Regions from separate parts of the Homo sapiens genome. Here all the other regions are linked to region 1. The links are contacts of gene promoters, found by promoter capture Hi-C in blood cells and fetal thymus (Javierre and others, 2016). All regions are on one chromosome and are shown on one strand. Each heading gives the region's core, a stretch centred on a gene start or on the middle of the fragment in contact. The rest is flanking DNA. Distances are from core to core; before and after follow the strand shown.

Region 1 (3,161 bases), core at 175-2,674:
ATGATTTGTGCACTTTCAGATGTATGTTTTATTTCAGTGCAAGTTTAATGAAAAACTGGGTATCATTGGCCTGCAAGAATTGTAGATTTTAGAATATGGATTCCTTCCTATTAAGCCTTAGGTCTTTTGGTATTTTGGTTATGTGGTAATTTTGCCAGAGATGAATTTCAACTAATGAAAGAGGGATACTTTCTGGTGACTTTACACTTATGGTGTAATGTCTTCAAGTCAGTTAACTTCACATATCTAACACAGTGCTGCTGTCCAATAGACCTTTTTGCAGTGATGAAAATGTTCTCTGTGTTGCCCATTATAGTAGCCATTAGTCACGTGTAGCTCTTGAGCACTTGAAAAAGGGCAAATGCAACTGTGGAACTGAGTTTTTAACTTAATGTAATTTAAATTTAAATAGCTGCAGGTGACTGGTAACTGCCATGCTGGGCAGCATAGAGCTGACATTTATGTTTTTCCTTTTTAGGTACATGGTGATCCCTGTTTTTGGTTTTACTGTCTCTTGAATTTAAGTCCATCTGAATGTTGGTTTTAGCAATGACGTGAGAACTTCGGAGCTTGCTTCCTCATGGACGACTACTCAGCTGATAAGGAAACACAGCTAAACTTGACTATTTATAACTGTATTTATACAGTAATAAGCCTATCTTTGGATGGCAGAGAGTATATTTATAGTGAAATATTTTGGGGAAAAGTTACTGAGAAGTTGTCTTTTTGAACAGGAATATATTAAATATAGCATGATGCTATAATTTTATTCTGTCCTTCATATGTAACATGCTTTAGTACATGGATGATTCTTTTTTTATATGAGTTATTTGTAGCTGCCTAATATTTCTTGAAAGAGTGAGCATTTCTTTTGTACCCTCGGAAAGTTTCATGCTAGTGCGAAACGCATTGCTATTGTTCTTTCAGAGCCGGGGCCATCCAGTCTTGGCAGCATGCTCATGCCTGTCCAGGAGACTGCCTGGGAAGAGCTCATCCGCACTGGCCAGATGACACCTTTTGGTACCCAGATCCCTCAGAAACAGGAGAAAAAGCCCAGAAAAATCATGCTTAATGAAGCATCAGGCTTCGAAAAGTATTTGGCAGATCAAGCAAAACTGTCTTTTGAAAGGAAGAAGCAAGGTTGTAATAAAAGAGCAGCTAGAAAAGCTCCAGCCCCAGTCACGCCTCCAGCCCCAGTGCAAAATAAAAACAAACCAAACAAGAAAGCCAGAGTTCTGTCCAAAAAAGAGGAGCGTTTGAAAAAGCACATCAAGAAACTCCAGAAGAGGGCTTTGCAGTTCCAGGGGAAAGTGGGATTGCCAAAGGCAAGGAGACCTTGGGAGTCAGACATGAGGCCAGAGGCAGAGGGAGACTCTGAGGGTGAAGAGTCTGAGTATTTCCCCACAGAGGAGGAGGAAGAGGAGGAAGATGACGAGGTGGAGGGGGCAGAGGCGGACCTGTCTGGAGATGGTACTGACTATGAGCTGAAGCCTCTGCCCAAGGGCGGGAAACGGCAGAAGAAAGTGCCAGTGCAGGAGATTGATGATGACTTTTTCCCAAGTTCTGGGGAAGAAGCTGAAGCTGCTTCTGTAGGAGAAGGAGGAGGAGGAGGTCGGAAAGTGGGAAGATACCGAGATGATGGAGATGAAGATTATTATAAGCAGCGGTTAAGGTCGGTCTGTGGGGATTATAAATACATTGTACTGTTTGCTTTATCTTAGGTGACAGGTTTATTAATATGTAAGCATTCTAGATCCAGCTTAATATATTAGACCCCCCCGATTATACAGAGGTTGGATTTCTGCAGCCTTAACCTGCTAGAAGCAGTGGGGCCCCTGAGTCCTTAATGATGCTGGCCCCAAATGCATGTACTTCTAGGTCTTTAGTTGGATTTGGAGGCAAGTCTAAGATGAAAAACTTAAGGGAAGGCTGGGGCAAGAGGCATACAGAGGGCTGAGTGTGAGCTGTGTCGCCTTTATACCGACAGTCACCCTAGAATGAGTATCAGGAAAAAGAAAAGGGTGAATTAATGCATACTGGATAGGGGTTTCTGTTTTCCCTTTTGAAGCAGGAAAGTAATTTTAGAGAACTTTTCTTCAAAAAAGAGCTGAAACTTAAGCTTTGGCATAGAAAGAATAAGCTTGCTTTTGTAAATCCTTCCTTTGTCTTGAGAAAATAGTCATCTGCATAATTATAAGCCACCATCATGCAAAAAGTGTACTTTGTATGCACAGCATACCTTTCTTTTCACTGTTGTTTTTTATGTTAGAGACTGACTTTGGCTTTTAGCTCCATGACATTGTCATTGTATAAAGCAAGCACCATAAAAGGGAAGGTGAACATGTGAAACATGAAGTCTGAATTGCATATTGCCACACGTTTTCTGAGAGCCAGGAAAAATAATCTGTATTGCAGGCCTCCCCATGGTGGCCCACTGAACACTGTGCTACTGCCGCGCATTTCAAGTCTCCTTGACTTAGAGCTCACTTAGCTCTAAGGAAGTCAAAGGGAAAAAGGAACCTTATTACTTTTAAAATACTTGATAGTGGGATGGCTTTTTCCCAATCCTCAACAGTTTTTTCTTATTTCTCAAGGTGAAGAGACCTAGTTTGTTGTATTTATTGGCCTTTGTGAGTGAAGGTTGACCTGGTGTTTTTTCTTGTTACTTAGAACTGCTCATTAACCCCCGTCCAGACACTACAGACATTCCATAACCTTTCCGAAATAGATGTGTCAATTCTTTTAAACAGTAATTTGAGGACCTGTGACTTAAATCCTGTTCTTTAGAGTTGCGGCACTCACATTCTAGTAGCACCTTATGTAGTAATGCACAGATGAGGGCTGGCTTATATTTGTCATCCCTCAGCACAGCTTTCGTTTCTGTGCACGTTTATTACCTGTGAAGTTGTTTGAGGAATGTTGCCCAGTACTCTTGAACAGTGAGCGGTGTCAGACTTTTTCTTAACTACTGCAAGGAATTAATAAAAGTGTTAATCTCAACATATTGATTATAAATGGAGCAATATATATTTTTCCAATTAAATTGGGTCAATATTAAATATGTTTAAAATATATCAGTATTTTGATCAAGAGCAATTTATTTTGATTGAATTTTAAATGTGGGTTTAGTTAATTTGATGGCAATAAGTTTTTCTTAATAA
Region 2 (3,161 bases), core at 270-2,769, 840 kb after region 1:
GCTGTTTTTATTACTTCTATCTTATTATGGTCTTTCTAAATTTTCTTTTCTTTCCTTCTTTTTTTTTTTTTTTTTTGGAGATGGAGTTTCATCGTGTTGTCCAGACTGGTCTTGAACTCCTGACCTCAGGTGATCTGCCCCTCTCAGCCTCCCAAAGTGCTGAGATTACAGGCGTGAACCACTGCGCCTGGCCGAAATTTTCTTTTCTTTCAACACAGAAAATCTTTCCAAGTTCATGAAAGAATAGCCCATGTGCTCAGGATGGACAGACAGGAAGGGCCTCCCTGACCTGACCCTGTTCCCTACCTCTCTGGCCAGAACCCCAGGCATGCCCCTTACCCGGCTCTGCCACACCAACCTCCACGAGGTCTCCTCCTCCAGACCCTTATCAAGAACACTTCTCAGAAACCCACAGGACTCGGCCTCCCTCACAGGTCCCCTCTCAGAAGACTAGAGCCATCCCCACCCTCCCAAGACCCCCACCCTACCTGCTATTCTCCCACCTGCTGAGCACCGTAGACCCCTGTCCGCTTTGACCAGAGCCTGGCAGGGCGTGGTTTCTCAATACCTATTTGTTAAATAACTAAATGAATGACTATACATAAACTCATATTAAAATTAGTGTGCTCCATGGAAAGGGTAATGCATAGAGCCCTTAGTTATCAAACCAGCCCCCCCACACTTTAGATGAGTTGGGACAAAGGATCGGTTTAGTGTTCTAGAAGTTTCATTTCAGGGGAAAAGAAGAATCAGTCCTTACTGAGCAGGTGGCCCTGCTTAGGCAGAAAATGCAGGCGTTTCAATGGTTTGCTGTAATAATTCAGATGAGGGAAGTGAGCCCAGGGAGGCACCTACTTACCAGAACCCAGTGGAGTAATGACAGGGCCGGGATAGACCAGCTCCCTCTGAGGCCCGTTGGAAATGGCCCTCCAACTCTGCACTCCTCAGAGGCCTATGAGGGAGCTTGGAGGGCGAGCCTCACTGTCCTGTCGGCCTGCTCTCTCCGCCCCCTCGACAACCAGGAAAGCCCGTGTCAGCCCTTCCCAGGGTTCCCTTCATAGCAGGACCCCGAGAAAGGACTTGACCTACCGTCAGAGGTCGAGGAGTGCTGCTGGAGCCCAGCCTGACTCCCAAACTTCAGCAGTGACACACACTCAGGCAGACCCAGGCCCTGGAGTGGCCCTGACCACATGGGCCCCCCACGCCACACACACTTCCTGCTCCCCAGCTCACCTCCTCTCCCACATTCACAAACCCAAACCAGGCACTGGGTCACATGTGCCCCATAGTCAGCCTCCCAGGAGGCAGCCAGTAGGCCCCACGCTGACAGGCGGCGCCCATATGCCCACCTCTAGGCTGGCCTGGCTGGGCCAAGAGCAAGGTGGCCTACCTGGAGGGGTGGCCGTCAGCGCCTGTAGACATCAGAAGGCATGGGCCCCCTATCCCCAGCTGCAGCCCCTCAGGCTCGGGGGAAGAGGACCCGGCCCCACATCGTCAGTCCTCAGCGCCGTTTCACTCTGAATCACTGGAGCTGGGTCTCTGCTCATTTCCTGGAGAAAGCAGAAGTGGAGAGCCGGCAGATGCCTGACTCTGCCCACTCTCCAGCCGACCACGGAGCTGCTGGAGTTCTGGCGGGTGACTTGGGTTCTGCAGCAAGGCCCCTTGGGGCTGGCTGTGCAGCCTCCGTGGTCAAGCGGTGCTGGTTGGGGCCAAGGACAAAATGGAAAGTACAGCCCAGCCCTAGAAGAGTAGGTCTGGATTCTGTGTCCCCTCTTCACTAGCCGTGTGACCACTGGTGCACACCTCTCCTCTCTGGGCCTCTGGCAAAATGAGAACAATGATGGTGTTAGGTGAATCTAATCAGAGGTGTGTTTAAGTGCACCCCTGGACATGGCATGGGTTGGGCAGCCCTCACCCCACCAAGCTCAGAGTTGCCCACTTGGATTTCTTCCTCCCCCATCCTCAGATAGAACTTGAACCACCAATGAGGGGAGTCCTCCTGCGGCCAACACTGAGGCAAGGATGAGAGGACATCTAAAACCATAGAATGGAAGTCTCTGAAACTCAGACTCCAAATTCTCATTCCTCTGAGTATATAAACTAGGCTGAATTATCCATGTCACCTATCCATAACGTCATCTCCACAGTACAAACAAGCATGTCCATTCACACACAATCCTGCTTGTGCTCTGTAAAAGGAGAATTTTGCCAAAGAGCAAGGGCACTTGTTAGCGCTAATGCCTGATCCTTGATCCTCAGTGCAGCTCATCGCTTGTCTCTAGCTCACAAAACCAGTGGACCATGCATGACTGACTGAGAGGCAGCAACAACATCACTTGTTATGACATGGAGTAAAGCTCCAAGATTGGTTTAAAGAGGAAAATAACATTTGTCACAAAACCTCAACCTCCACCAGTGCAAACTTGTCAGTAGACAGCAGCCAAAATAGGAGATCTATCCAGCTGCACTCCAGTCTGGACAGCAAGAGCGAAGCTCCGTCTCAAAAAAAAAAAAAAGAAAAAAAAGAAAAGAAAAGAGAAATTGAAAGGATACATGCAGTGCCAGCCAAGGGAAAGAGAAAACCTTAGAGAATTTGCAGTGAAGTGTTTGTTGTATATGATGAAAACCCCTCGTCATTGTCACCAATGAAATCATAAATAAAATCTACAAGAAGATATTGCCTGAAATCAGAGGCCTATGGTAAGAGCGGATTAGACAGAGGAACTTCCACAGAGGCAGGAAGGGTGGCCAGCATGGGACAGGCCAGGACCCCATGCCTGTGAATGCCCAGAGGAAGCGCGGAGAGTCTGTCATAGTGGGATCTCGCAAAGTCTGCTGGAGGGCCCACCTGCACCCAGGTCTCCTACCTTCTACCCACCCCAGCACCTTGCCGGGTAGCCAGCAGCAGGCAGGTAAAGAGCACTAAATTCAGAGCTAGAAACTCAAGGTTGAAATTCTCACTATCTTAACTGAGATAATTGACATCTTATTTGCAGAATGAATGAATGCCTTGTTAGAAGGAACAAATCAAATAATATTTGCAAGAGAGGTTTTTTTTTTTTGAGACGGAGTCTCGCTGTCGCCCAGGCTGGAGTGCAGTGACGCGATCTCGGCTCACTGCAGGCTCCGCCCCCCGGGGTTCACGCCATTCTCCTGCCTCA
Region 3 (3,161 bases), core at 320-2,819, 740 kb after region 1:
GAAGAAGAAGAAGAAGAAGAAGAAGAAGAAGAAGAAGAAGAAGAAGAAGAAGAAGAAGAAGAAGAAGAAGAAGAAGAAGAAGAAGAAGGAGAAGAAGAAGAAAGAAAGAAGAAAGAAGAAGAAAGAAGAAGAAGAAGAAGAAGAAGAAGAAGAAGAAGAAGAAGAAGAAGAAGAGGAGGAGGAGGAGGAGGAGGAAGAGGAAGAAAAAAAGAAAACTGTGGCGAACTCTCCCAAGATTTGTCTTACCATGAAATAGATGCACTCCAGGTGCGAAACTACCAGAGCTTAAAACATCTGTAAAGTATATAACCTCATTCCCTAAAACCAAACTCTTAAGTGACAAGAAACCTGACTTGAAATAGGCTGATCTGAAATGTCTAATTTTCAATGAGCTGCACAGCCACGGCAAACACCCCAGTTTGAATTAACATACTGGTCTCTAAGTCAATGATACCCAATGTGCTAGTAGAGAAAGGTGCCATGAATATAGAATTGGTAAGACTTTGGCTCTAGACCTGACCTCGTCCCATTGCTCTGGCCAGTGCCATTTGCCACAGGAAATGAAATTCAAAGACATCATGGGCCTGGAGACAGAAATGCTCAAGAGCACTCAATCGCCCTTCAGCACATACAGGCTGCTGACATAGATTCATTTATCATTCTTTCCAGATGGGAGCTGACCCCTTTGACTTGACAGAGCACAGAGAACAATGCTCCCTGCTTGAATAACAACAATCAATAATGAAAATGTGGATGTTTTGTCTGCCTGTTTAATAATTGAAGTCAACAGTATACTTTAGTTAAAAAGCTTCTTCATTAAAAGCAATGTAACTTATTTATCTCATTCTCTTCTCTCTTTCTTTGCTGATGGTATTGCCCAACCCACCTCTTCCCCATTAGGGCTTTGGAGTTGAAATCTAAAGATATTGTCATTTCCTTTTCTGTGACATTTTCTCTTGGGTTGTAAATATATAATGATACAATTACAGAGGTCTTCCCTAATGACTGACTTTAACGCTGAGCTTATTCTCTGCAAATCTGCTACAAATAACTGGATGTCCATTTAAAAACTAATATCAGCAAGAACATTGTAAATCAAAACACTCCATACCTTGGACATGCACAGCTTGGAAGTTACCACAATATCTTGGGCCAAGTTTGTTAATAACTTCCAGAGTTTCCATTGAAATGGCTTCTTCAAAGAGGTATGTGGGGCCAAGACGCCAGATTAATGAAGACTTTTGTTTCCAGACTCGAGGAGTAGCAATATATCCATAAACATCCACAAATGCGGATGGATCCATAGAAAGGAAAGGCCCTGGTAGAGCCTGGATGTATAACATCTGTTAAAATAAAAAGGACAAGAGTGAGTAGTGTTTGATCTCAGAGTTAATCAAGTAAATACAAAGTGATATAACATGATGCATCTTATTCTCATCTCATAGTAAAAATGTATTTTATCTAAAAAACTAAAATATAATTCTCAAATCTCAGAAGTATGCGCAAAACAAGTTATTAAATGTGGAGTAAAAAACTGATACTGTCCTTTTGAAAATAAATTTGATAAAAAATATTAAGAAACAAAAAAGTGTACACCTTTCTTATCTCAGTCATTCTACTAAGAACCTGAATGTCTAGTATTGGCAAATTAATAGTTTTATGTATGAACAATAATTACATACATACAGAGTGGAAAGGAAGAAATAAAACTGTTTCTATCATGTCCATGTAGAAAGTTCCAAGGAATTTTTTTTAATATCCTAGAATAAGTGAATTCAGCAAGGTCACAGGATACATGATCAATACACAAAAATCAATTTTATTTGTGTAGGCTAACAATAAACAAACAGAAACTAAAATTAAACACAATACCACTTACAATTATGCACAAGAAAATGAAATACTTAGTAAGACAAGTAGAGGATCTGTATACTGAAAATTCCTAAGTGATGATGGAAAAAGTCCAAGACGACCTATATAAATGGAGAGACATACCAGGTTCATGGATAGAAAGGTTCACTATAGTAAAGATATTATTTCCCCTCGAGTTGATCAGTAAGTATAATGCAATTCCAGAAAGGTTTTTTGTAGACTATCAGAATTCCAGCAAGGTCTTTTGTAGACACAAACAAGCTAATTCTAAAATGTATATGGGAAGGCACAGGTCCTAGAATAGTTTAAACAACTCTGAAAAAGAAGAATTAATTTGGGGGAGGAACTACTCTAATAATGACTTATTATATAGCTATAAAATCAATATAGTGTGACATTGGTATAAAGATAACCACATAGATCGATGGAACAGAATAGAGAACCCAGAAATAAGCTTATATAAGAATGCTCACCTGATTTTTGACAAAGATGCAAAAGCAATTCAATTGAGAAATGATAGACTCTTCAACAAATGGTGCTGGAGCAATTGAACATCCACAGGCAAAGAAATGAACTTAAACCTTACACCTTATACAAAAATTAATTCATAATTGATTGCAAACTCTAGTGTAAAACGTAAAACTAGAAAATTTTTAGGGAAAAAAATAGGAGAATATCTTCAGGATCTAGGACTAGGCAAAATATTCTCAAACGACACCAAAAGCATGAGTCATATAAGGAAAAACTAATGAATTATATTTCAGCAAAACCAGAAATTTTACCCATGTGAAAGAGGATTAAAAGACATGCTACAGACTAGGAGGAATTATCGCAAATCACATATCTAACAAAGGACTAGTGTCTAGAATATATATGTATATATATAGACACACATACACATATATGTATACATTTTAAAACCCTAAAACCCTTAAAACTCAACAGTTTAAGGCCAGGCGCAATGGCTCACGTCTGTAATCCCAGCACTTTGGGAGGCCGAGGCAGGCGGATCACGAGGTCAGGAGATCGAGACCATCCTGGCTAACATGGTGAAACCCTGTCTCTACTAAAAAACACAACAAACATTAGCCAGGCATGGTGGTGGGTGCCTGTAGTCCCAGCTACTGGGGAGGCTGAGGCAGGAGAATGGCGCGAACCCAGGAGGCGGAGCTTATAGTGAGCCGAGATCGCACCACTGCACTCCAGCCTGGGGTGACAGAGCGAGACTACTCCGTCTCAAAAAAAAAAAAAAAAAAAAAGTAAACGATGCAACTGGGTGTGGTGGCTCA
Region 4 (3,161 bases), core at 192-2,691, 680 kb after region 1:
TGTTGGAAGGGTTTTCAGACCATAGTCTTGTTGCCAAAAGCAAACCAACTTTAACCCCATTTTTTGGGAGGCTGCATGGCCAAAAGAACAGTCAAAGAGATGGCATTTGGGTCACTCTCAGATTGCAGAACCCATGGTAGAGAGACAGACTCCTCCTTCAGCGACAGTTGTAGACCAGGAAGAGTGTGACTGGCAGGAGATAGGCAAGCAAGCCATGGACAAAGCAAGTCACTGTAGCTACTGATAATTCATTAAGTGTGTGGACTTTGCACTTAAGTCACAACATGGCAGACTACATTTTAAGATAAGGTTTAAGAACAAGAACCAACATTTCTGGTACAGGAAATTTTTATCAACTAGCTGAGGTAGGAGCTTGCTGCACATTAGGAGAAGATCAGCATCATCCGGTTTAAGCATCAGGGTCCCTTTGTTAGTTCGGGGTCTCTGCTAGCCCAGCCATTGTCCTTCGAGTGAACTTGCAGGAGAAAGCCCCTCTGGACAGTCAAATGAGAACAAGGCGTCCTCCTCTGGGCAGCCGCGGACCGCACCACAGCTCAGGTCCTGCTGCAGAGCTCAGAAGTCAGGACACACCTGGCGACTGCTGTCTCTGGCACAGGCGACCATTCCCTGCAGTGAGGACACTGCTTGTCGCAGACCAGCTGGTTTCACATCTACCACCAGCTGCTGTGCAATGATGATGCCTGTCTTTCTCTGCTTGGGCCCTCAGGATAGCTTCCCGCACCCACATTGATGGGCTGTTAGTGGTTCTGCCAGTTCTATTCAGAGTCAGGCCCTGACACTGATCCTTTTAAGGGGACAAAGGACAGTCTCTCTTAAACCTCTGTATTTGCTTTGCATTTATCTCAAATCTTCTCCACACAAAACTGAGGGGCCTGGATCCAGTACCAATTATTCCTGGAAAAATCATCCAAGAAGAAGTTGAGGGAGTTTGATGTCATGAGTAGAGACTTTCTCTTCTCATCTGCATCAGGTGACATCAGCTTGATGCTCAAGTGGTCCGGCATCTTCATGTACAAAGATAACAGAGTGGACATCACATCCACTGAACTAGCTGCTTTATTAAAAGATAGGCATTCAGGATTCAATCAGAATTGTTTTAAAAATGAAAGCTATGGAGACTTGAACATGCTGGCTTCTATCTTGGGTAGCCTGTTCCCAGCAGGTGTGCAGTGACTCTGTGATGTTTCAGGAAGACCCCTAATCTAAGAAGGTTACTGCGTTTAGCACTACAGTGTGCCCATTCCAGTTATAATATTTTATCAGAAGCCATCATGATCTCAGATGGAGAATATTCCATTGATTCACAGGGCTTGCACAAGCTCCGTGTCTGCTCTCTGCCCTAAGAAAGCAGGAAAATGTGAGCTTACAACTAAGGATGGCTGGACTTCAAGTTTGATATGTGCAGTTTCTCTTTCCTGCATGGGTAAGGGAATGTGTGTAACCTATTTTCAGCAAGTCATGGATGATACTCCCTGAACCTAACCTGACAGAAAACATACATTAGAAGATTTGCCCTAAAATACCTTTAAAGGGAAAGCTCAGCTAGAGAATTTAAGGCAGGAATTACAGAAACTTTTCCGAAAAAAAAAAAATCAGTTGTGATATGTTTAAACATGAAGGACACAAATACAAACAAACATTAAATAAAATGATCAAATAAGAAAAAAGCACAAAATGATCAAATAAGAAAAAAGCACAAAGTGCAGTAACAAATATATCAATGGAACAGTCTGTGTCTTATAGTACTTATTACCTTGCTACCACTCAAGAGCTGAACAGCCCAATGGAAACTTTAATATATACCACTAGCAGCAAAATAACTGCTTTTATTGAAGAAGAAACAAACAAAAACTGTGTTGCTCTAAGCAATTTTGAAATGAATATCTGATTCAAAACTTCCCCTGTGCATATAATTGTATGCTAATTTACATTTTAATTACTTCCTAAGAAATCAAAAGCATTTGTTGACAGTAGAACATAATGTCAACTTCACGGTGCTCTGTTGGTGGATGCTTAATGAACTTAATTAGATAATTAGTGATGTTAATTATCCTTCTATTATGAAGATAAAGATGTCTCACAAATGATGCACTCAGTAAAGAAACATCATTAAAGGTATCAGTGTTTGCTTTGTTCATTTACATGTATTTTTCAGACTCCTATAACAGACACTTGTGATAGACCAGAGACACTTAAGACTCCTTAAAATGGAAAAAGAAAAACCACTGTCTTTCTTCATCCAGCTCTTATCCTTCCCCCTTATTCTGGATACTAATGCTGTACTGGTGATGTTGCCACTTTTTCAAAATCTGGGCTGTAGGGAACTCTCGTCCTTGTTCAGTTCTGCTGCTGAGTTTCTGGTGCAATTGATCAGACTCCTTCCCGCTTCCTTCTCACTGGTGTGATAGGTGAATTCTAATGTCAATTGCTTGCACAATGGGATGTGTCTATGTGTGTGTGGGTGGGGGTGTGCATATACACGTGTGTGTGTGTGAGAGAGAGAGAAAGAGAGTGGGGGTGTGTGTGTGTGTGCGTGAGAGAGGTGTGTGTGTGTGTGTGTGTGTATGTGTATGTGTGTGTGTGTGTCAAGGGAAGAGCAAAAATGAGAGAGAAGGCTCTGGTTGAGTGTCCAGAAAACCTAAAAGGATAATGGAGCCCCTCCCCACCGCCCCAGGCTGGTTGAATTTCCCTGATGCTGCAGTGTGTCCCCACCTCCATCACCAGACTCTGTCCCTCTGGGGAAGGTCATTCTGGGTGTGGCGTAGGAAGCACGGCTGCCTGCAAGACTGAGGGCAATGATACAGGCCACATAGACTTTACTTTCAGTTGAAGTGAAAACAGAAACTTTTGAGGTTTAAAAAATAACACTAGACTTCATTACATTTTTGTTCCTTCCTTGCCCCCAAATACCACCATAATCAGAGCATAATGGATATCCCGTCTGGAAATATTCCTAGCCCAGACAGTACGATGAAGAGCTCTCAGGCCAGACTGGGAGAGAGGCATTATTTTTAGGGTCAGTTATCTCAGGAAAAGCACCAAGAGCCAAGAGGTCCTTGGCAGCATTGCCCACCACAATTAAGAAAACCAATATTCCATTTAGCAGAAGGTCTTAGAACATGGCTCACGCCAGTAGAGCA

What was found. Contacts are between HindIII fragments. The CHiCAGO score rates a contact against its expected background, and 5 or more counts as called.
Region 2: the fragment with the promoter of WDFY4 here is called in contact with the fragment with the promoter of PGBD3 in region 1 in 3 of 17 cell types (monocytes, megakaryocytes and neutrophils); the score reaches 11.2 in monocytes.
Region 3: a contact is called between a fragment that was not itself captured here and the fragment with the promoter of PGBD3 in region 1, in 1 of 17 cell types (monocytes). The highest score is 5.6, in monocytes.
Region 4: a fragment that was not itself captured here is called in contact with the fragment with the promoter of PGBD3 in region 1 in 1 of 17 cell types (M2 macrophages); the score reaches 5.2 in M2 macrophages.

Annotation. Positions count from the first base shown.
Region 1 is chr10:49,522,544-49,525,704 of GRCh38, reverse strand. It overlaps PGBD3 (piggyBac transposable element derived 3), which reads left to right and starts at 1,424. Exons shown (of 2, transcript NM_170753.3): 1 at 1,424-1,672. It overlaps ERCC6 (ERCC excision repair 6, chromatin remodeling factor), which reads left to right. Exons shown (of 21, transcript NM_000124.4): 5 at 928-1,672. The HindIII fragment of the contact is 2,591 bases long and covers 1-2,121 here.
Region 2 is chr10:48,683,231-48,686,391 of GRCh38, reverse strand. WDFY4 (WDFY family member 4) reads right to left here and starts at 1,519. Exons shown (of 62, transcript NM_001394531.1): 1 at 1,391-1,519. RefSeq lists enhancers at 729-1,269, 1,288-1,587, 2,518-2,597 and a silencer at 2,248-2,297. The HindIII fragment of the contact is 16,271 bases long and covers 1-3,161 here.
Region 3 is chr10:48,784,821-48,787,981 of GRCh38, reverse strand. WDFY4 (WDFY family member 4) reads right to left here. Exons shown (of 62, transcript NM_001394531.1): 20 at 1,112-1,343. Among named protein-coding and RNA genes, the nearest start is that of WDFY4, 100 kb to the right of the region's middle. The HindIII fragment of the contact is 1,518 bases long and covers 811-2,328 here.
Region 4 is chr10:48,839,850-48,843,010 of GRCh38, reverse strand. All of the region lies in intron 39 of WDFY4 (WDFY family member 4), which reads right to left. Among named protein-coding and RNA genes, the nearest start is that of LRRC18, 98 kb to the left of the region's middle. The HindIII fragment of the contact is 6,798 bases long and covers 1-3,161 here.